Linked DNA regions of Homo sapiens: region 2 is linked to region 1. Evidence: promoter capture Hi-C in 16 types of primary human blood cells and fetal thymus (Javierre and others, 2016). All regions are on one chromosome and are shown on one strand. Each heading gives the region's core, a stretch centred on a gene start or on the middle of the fragment in contact. The rest is flanking DNA. Distances are from core to core; before and after follow the strand shown.

Evidence for each region. Contacts are between HindIII fragments. The CHiCAGO score rates a contact against its expected background, and 5 or more counts as called.
Region 2: a fragment that was not itself captured here is called in contact with the fragment with the promoter of TNFSF18 in region 1 in 1 of 17 cell types (endothelial precursors); the score reaches 5.7 in endothelial precursors.

Annotation. Positions count from the first base shown.
Region 1 is chr1:173,048,788-173,052,835 of GRCh38, reverse strand. It overlaps TNFSF18 (TNF superfamily member 18), which reads left to right and starts at 1,895. Exons shown (of 3, transcript NM_005092.4): 1 at 1,895-2,095. The coding sequence starts at 1,940. The HindIII fragment of the contact is 4,458 bases long and covers 1-4,048 here.
Region 2 is chr1:173,172,192-173,176,239 of GRCh38, reverse strand. It overlaps a transcript of TNFSF4 not described here. Among named protein-coding and RNA genes, the nearest start is that of TNFSF4, 33 kb to the left of the region's middle. The HindIII fragment of the contact is 3,011 bases long and covers 655-3,665 here.

The DNA of each region.
Region 1 (4,048 bases), core at 646-3,145:
CCTAACAGTGGTTAAAGGCGGAAGGAGGAACTGGATTTTATTTAAAACAGTTTCTCATGTGAATAAATGTTTACCTAAGGTAGCAAGCCAGGGAAATTCCCTCAAAAATTTGGAAAGCAGACAGGAAAAGGGGCAGATCATAAAAACAGGAAGGACATAATTTAACTTCCAATTTTAAGTTCTGTGCTTGTGTATATGAATTCCAGATCTGATGCAAGTGCAAAGGTTATGGGATCAAGGCATCAGTCTTTTTCTAGAGTAAGTTTATTCTTTATCCCTGCATTGCAGCATCTAAGTACAGAGCCACAAAAACATTTGTTGTGTTGAAAAATCATTTTTGTGTAACTGGTCTTTTAAGAAGTAGTTTATTGAACAAGGTAAAATAGGGCCCAAATTAAAATTTTGACAGTTCAGAGAGAAATATTGCTAATAATATTGTAAATAGTGCAATATTAAGACAAAATGGTTGGATTACAAAGCAGTATCTGTGGGCTTGAGTTTTCACTCCATCATTAACCAGCCAGCAGTGATTTGAGACACTACTCACACCCTCTTGTCCTTAGTTTCCTTTTTTTGTAAAGGAGGATGTTAAATCTCTGGACTTTTTTCTAATTTATAAATCGTCAATTCTCTCTTAGATTAAAAAATAGGTTTTCCAAAATACTTTCATTGTACTTCCTTTTGTTTAAGTAAACTTTAGGTGAATTTTATCTTGTGGGAAAGATAAAGAATGTTCATTCTTTTCTAGGATTTAATAATTGAATTAAACTTCACTACATCGCTAAAGAGGGTAGAGAAGAGATAATCTAACATTTATGGAATGCATAAACTTTTCACCTTCATTTCATTCTCCACAAAAGCATTATAAAGTGAAAATTTTCTCCATTTTACAGTGAAGGAAACTGAAGCTCAGAGAACTCAAGTAACATGCCTAAGGCCACAGAGCAGGTAGGAACTGGGCAGTGCCAGCCTCTGCTCTTGAGGTCTGTCTGATTTAAAAGCCTGTGTGACTGAGGTCCATAGAACCAGGAGACTTCCTCAATTTTGTAGTAAACCCATATTTTTGGGCCCAGGAAGAAAACCCAAGGTTTTTTTTTTTTTTTTTTTGGAATAGAGTATAAGCTCTGGCTGAGGGCAGGATGCAGGAAAATATCCTTCTGTAAAATAACTTCTTATGCCAGAACTAGATTATCAGAGTTTAAAAATGATGAAATATAAAATTGAGCTTGTTGTATTTACAATTTTTTATTAAATTCTTGTAATACACTTGATATTTTCTAGAGACTCAGAATGAACGCATTCTATACACTAGAAATTGATGAAACATTTTTGTGAGTATAGATTTTATTTTTCCAGGTTTACTGAAGTATAATTGACAAATAAAAATTGTGGGTATTTAAGGTAAACAAGATGATGACTTGATTAAAACTCTATTTTTTCCAAACTAGAGATCCTAGCCTCTCCAACTTCCTAACACTCTGCCGCTCATGTACATGATATCTGGAGTATGGTAGGGGGATTAATCTCAAACTTTATTTTTTCTTATAAAAAGTGATTTTCTTATCTAGAAATAATCTGGAATACTTTCTTAGATGAGAGCACACCACTTTATTCTCCCAAGCCTCCTCTACACGTGCACTGTACTGCCGTTTGATTTAGGAAAGAAATTTTTTTCCCCTCTGAACTTCCCTTGTGCTTTTTTTTTTATGTTCTGAGTTTGTGTTGGCTTTCAGCCTTCCGTTCCTTTTGTTGTATTTGATCTGGTGCCAAATGAGAGTCAGCACTTAAGTTATAAGTATCATTTTCTAACACAGTGACAGAAGGAAAACTCCGCCTTCCACACCCACTACTAATTACCATATTGCTACAAAACATGACATTGCATCCTTCACCCATCACTTGTGAATTTTTGTTTTCCACAGCTCTCATTTCTCCAAAAATGTGTTTGAGCCACTTGGAAAATATGCCTTTAAGCCATTCAAGAACTCAAGGAGCTCAGAGATCATCCTGGAAGCTGTGGCTCTTTTGCTCAATAGTTATGTTGCTATTTCTTTGCTCCTTCAGTTGGCTAATCTTTATTTTTCTCCAATTAGAGGTAAGGAGGCAATTGTACCTAAGGTTACTATTTGCTATAATCCTCTATTTATTTGTTTTTCTAGTTGTTATCATTGTCACTCAGTATTGTTAGCAATAGTTGGAAGGAAGAGATGTGTATACATAATGTAAATACAATTCTAATATTGTCATGACATGGCGTTTGAAGTTTATCTAAAGGTTTTGAGATAAAAGGTATCAGAAAATGCTAAATGTTAGCTGCAGAACTCTGTTAGATAGAGAGAACTGGTTAAGCCAATTGACAGGGGCCTGTGGAGTATTTTTCCTTCCCTCTGCTATAGCTCTTGGTGGAATAAAAAAGGTAAAAATATGAATGAATATCAAGGAATGGGATGCAAGCTATAGTCTTATTTATGGAAAAGACTTAAAAAAATAGTGAAAGACAGGATTAAGTAAATGACAGGTGGTTTGTGTGTCTTTGAGGAGGGAAGTGGCCCTGAGCTAGGTGTAAGAAGATCTGGATTCTGGTTCTGGGTCTCCTAATAACCAGCTGTATAAATTTGATAAAGACATTTAATCTCTCTAGTTTGCAGCTTCTTTATCTAAAAAAACTGGTGGTAGGGGAATGGATTTATTATGATGTTTCTTCTAGCTATAAAATGTCATGATCAAGAATTTATTTAAGGGTAGTATGAAGAATAAATGCCTAAGTCACTCAAAAGCAGGGAACAATGACTTTAGATTGAGTTGATCAGGGAAGACTTCATGGAGGAATGAGAAAGCCCATATCTATTTGGGAAGCCCCTGATGCTTGTCAGGAATTTCCCATTGAGATGCAGGCCAAGCTGTGGGCCTAGAGAATGGGATGGTACACTGGGAATGGAGATTAGTTTTGTTCTTTACTAAAAAATCTTTCCTCACAGTTAACTACGTAGCACTGATCAAAAAGAAAATAAGAAATGCTTTATTTATTTCAGGATTTAGCCTATTTCTGGCTAAATTTGAAGACTCTAAGTTTTGGGGAGAATAAAGTGGCATATGTCCATCTGAGAAAGAGTTGAAATGTGACTGCAGAAACACTTTTCTTAAGGGAACTGACCAGCAAAGATTTCAAAGATATAGTTCTACCACTTAAGATAAGTAAAAGTAATTGAGAAAAGATGCAGGAGGAAGCAGTCCCCTATTGATATTAATTTAGAGTAGGTATAGCTTTGGCCAATTTTTCCACAGTAGCCCATTAATTTGTATTCCATAACTGTATACAAGGCTTATGTGCAACAGAGGCATTTCTAATTACAACCCTGCTCTCTCAAGAAATGTATGAAGCAGAAGTGTGAACTTTCTGGGTCAGTGAAGTTGAAAGAAAGAATTGTCAGAAATTCTTAGTGTCTAGATTTCTGAAGAAGAGGAAGGGTGAGAATAGCAATAACTTAAATTTGGAAGTGCTTCTTTCTTCTAAAAATTATAAGATTAATTAGCCAGATAACCCTGAAGAACACTGAATATAAGCATCATCAGTTCCTACATATGACTCAGGAATGAATACACAGAAGCCTTTCCCAAAGGCACCCAGCAGTTCTTGCAAAGGGAAAGAGAAAGTCTAATAATGCCAGATCATCTGGGACACCTCTCTTCAGAATCAAACTGGATTAATCCCATGTGTTTGAGCTCTGATTCTGGTTTCTCTCTCCTAGATCCAGTTTCTCAATGAAATGTTCTACCTCTAAAGATAACCCAGAGTTTGTTTCAAATTTGGGGAAGTATAAAATGTTTTTAGAATATTGTTCTGACAGGACACTTGCAGGATTTGTTTCTATGGGAAAAGCCAGTGGCCTGGCCAACCATACATGATATTAGCTTCTGCATTTCACTTTCCACTTACCTGTACTTCCCTTTCCCTATTGGCCACAAATAAATATCTCTGGAAAAGAAGTCTGAGAGGCTGGCAGATAGTGATTCATTATGATGTGGCCACTTCCACATTGTCACAATA
Region 2 (4,048 bases), core at 911-3,410, 120 kb before region 1:
TTATCGAAGGGCCCATATTTTTACTGTTTTCTGAAGGTAGTTAGTTTTTACGGATATGATTTGTTAGGCAAGCTTCATAAATTATAATTATGTACCCACAAAAAAAGCAATTACACCACTACTAATTACCTGTCCACAACTTTTTGATACACAGAACAAGATACTTTGTATAGGATATAAGGAAGCTGTAGCATTCATTTTGAGTCTACGCCCCAGCCATGTACTTACAAACACAAGACATTTGTGAGAGGAAGCATCAGCCAGCTGGTCTTAGATTAGGAAAAAAAACACAAAAAAACAAAAAACCATGACTTCCTCCTGTCTTGGTAGACTGCTCTGTTAGTTTAGTGTCAATTGAAAATGGAACTCATGTATGCGCCAACAAAAGTCTTTCTGGAAGAGGAATAAACCTAGCTAAGGAGCCTGGGGAAAAATAGGGTCCCAAGCTTAGTCTAGACATGTAGACAGTTGAGCCTAAATCCCCATTACATAAGAAGTGCTGGTCTGACCTGATGATTGTTTTTCCCATAATGTTAAATAAAACAAGAGCCTCTCAAATTACAGTAAGTCATGCTCTTCATAAGACTTCTGCCAGAAATTCTCAAGTGGCTAAGTGGCAGCACAAGTTGTGCTATAACTTTCTAAACAAAAGCTTCCTTTTCAGGGGGCCTGATAGCATCAGGGAAGGAATGAGGGAGTACAAGTGAGGAGAAAGCAAAAATAAAGTAGGCATAGAGAAAAAAATCAAGGAATGGATAATATAAGAGCCTTTCAAGAATGTAGATTTACACTAGAGATTTATTAAATTTGAGGGCCTATAACAAAATTAATTTATTTAAACAAATATTTGTTAAAAATTCTTTTATAAAGTACCTGCCACTGTGTTAGGTGTTCTGGGGAATCTGAGAGAAATAGAAAGACACTAGAATAATATGGTTGGTCTAAAGCACTCAAGATTTAGAATCAATGGAGGCTTGTGTTCAAGTTGAGATTTTACCACCACTTATCAGCTGTATCCTCTGGTTTTACTTAATTGTAGGTCTACTGATCACTGCCTTCCCTGCTCTGCCATCATACAAATTATCTCATAGGATTGTTTTGAGGATTAAACAAAACACCAACCACGGGTCACAGATTATGACATTTTCAAGGTATTTAATAATTTTTAATTACCACTTGTAGAAACCACAGTCCCTGCCCGATAGGATCTTACTTCACAGAAAACAAAGACGTAAGAGACTCTAAAAGGAGTAAAGAAAGATGAAAGTCTGTAGGTTTACAAGATAGATGATTAAGATAAGTGGTATTTTTTACATTATTACCAAGTGGGACAGACTGTATAATCTGTATGAGGTGCTAGCCCTGTAGCTTTTTGTTTCATTATTGAAAATTCTATAGAAGTGACATTGGCCATATGGCAGTGTATGAGATACCAGCTTTCATTCCCCCACAGAAAACAATGAGACAGCAATTGATATGGTTTGGCTCTGTGTCCCCACCCAAATCTCATCTTGTAGTCTGGGGTGGGATCTCGTGGGAAGTGATTAGATCATGGGGGTGGTTCTCCCATGCTGTTCTGATACTGAGTGAGTTCTCATGAGATCTGAGGTTTCATAAAGAACTTTTCCCCCTTCATTCTGCACTTCTTGCTGCTGCCATGTGAAGAAGGACACGTTTGCTTCCCCTGCCACCATTGTAAGTTTCCCAATGCCTCCCCAGCCCTGCAGAACTGTGAGCCAGTTAAACCTCTTTCCTCTATAAATTACCTAGTCTCGGGCAGTTCTTTATAGCAGCATGAGAATGGACTAATACAGTAAACTGGTACCACAGAGAGTGGGGTGCTACTGTAAAGATACATGAAAATGTGGAAGTTACTTTGGAACTGGGTAACAGGTAGAGGTTGGAACAGTTTGGAGGGCTCAGAAGACAGGAAAATGTGGAAAAGTTTGGAATTTCCTAGAGACTTGTTGAATGGCTTTGATCAAAATGCGGATAGTGATATGGAAAATAAAGTCCCGACTGAGGTGGTCTCAGATGGAGATGAGGAACTCATTGGGACCTGGAGTAAAGGTCACTCTTGCTATGCAAAGAGACTGGCAGCATTTTGGCCTTGCTCTAGAGATCTGTGGAACTTTGAACTTGAGAGAGGTGATTTAGAGTATCTGGCAGAGGAAATTTCTAAGCTGCAAAGCATTCAAGAGGAAGCAGAGCATAAAAGTTTGAAAAATTTGCAGCCGGACAATGTGACAGAAAGGAAAACCCATTTTCTGGGGAGAAATTCAAGCTGGCTGCAGGAATTTGCTTAAGTAATGAGGAACCAAGTATTAATCACCAAGACAATGGAGAAAATGTCTCCAGGGCATGTCGGAGACCTTCGTGGCAGCCCCTCCCATCACAGGCTCTGAGGCCTGGAAAGGAAGGATGGTTTTCTGGGCACAGCCCAGGGCCCCCCTGCTCTATGCAACCTCGGGACATGGTGCCCTGTGTCCCAGCTGCTTCAACTCCAGCCATGGCCAAACAGGGCCAATGTACAGCTCACGCCCTTGCTTCAGACGGTGCAAGCCCCAAGCCTTGGCAGCTTACATATGGTGTTGGGCCTGCGAGTGTACAGAAGTCAAGAATTAAGGTTTGGGTACCTCTGCCTAGATTTCAGAGGATGTATGGAAATGCTTGGATGTTCAGGCAGAAGTTTGCTGCAGGGGTGGAGCCCTCATGGACAACCTTTGTTGTTTGCCCTATTAATAATTAATAATTTGCCCTATTACAAGGAGACTGTAGCCCCTTTGTTTTGGTCAATTTCTCCCATTTGGAATGGGTGCATTTATCCAGTGCCTGTACTCCCATTATATCTTGGAAGTAACTAACTTTCTTTTGATTTTACAGGTTCGTTGGCAAAAGGGACTTGCCTTGTCTCAGACGAGACTATGGATTTTGACCTTTGGATGAATGCTGAAATGAGTTAAGACTTTGGGGAACTGTTGGGAAGGCATAATTGTGTTTTGAAATGTGAGAAACAGGAGATTTGGGAGGGACCAGGGGTAGAATGATATAGTCTGGCTCTGTGTCCTCACCCAAATCTCATCTTGAATTGTAATACAAATTATAATCCCTACATGTTGGGGAGAGACCTCATGGGAGGTGATTAGATCATGGGGGTAGTTCCCCCAAGCTGTTCTCATGATAGTGAGGGAGTAGTCATGAGATCTGATGGTTTTATAGGGGATTTTTCCTCCTTCACTCTGCACTTCTTGCTGCTGCCTTGTGAAGAAGGACATGTTTGCTTCCCCTGCCGTCATGATTGTAAATTTCCTGAGGCCTTCCCAGCCCTGCAGAACTGTGAGTCAATTAAATCTCTTTCCTTTATAAATTACCCAGTCTTGGGCAGTTCTTTATAGCAACATGAGAATGGACTAATACATCAATCCACAAAGGAAAATAGTTTTGAGAGGGCTCAAGGGTCTAATTAAGAACGTGCAGCAACACAGTGGTGCAAAAAATAGATAATAATAACACATAATGATTGTTGGGGATATCAGCATACCTGAGATGTGTAGAGATGACTAGAAACAGGAACATAGAGCAGGGGATATCAGCTTGAGTCACAGTTACACAGTGGGTTCCACTGTGGTCCCCAGTGGCATGCTCTGCAGAGGGCACTGGAAGCTTTTGCCATTGAGGTAACTAATAGCAATCAACACTGTGAACTCCCTGGAGAGGGAGATAATGCTATGTCACCCCTAAAAGAAGCCACTGTTGTGCAGCTCTGGGACTGAGGCAACCCTTTCTCTGATTTCCTGTGAACTCCCTGCCCCAGATTTATGGCTGCATTAACCATGCTTGCACCCCAGACACCAGAACCACCATCACAATGAGCTAGCCTGCACCCTGGTCAGTGGAGCCACTGTTCCAAGCATACTTATGTTTCAGACCCAGGGTCTGTGGCCACTCTAATACTGGAGCTACCACTGCAGCAGTCATGTCAGCAACCTGCTCCCTGGAGCAGTGGTAACCCTACACATGCCTGTACACCAGACCCAGGCTCCACAGC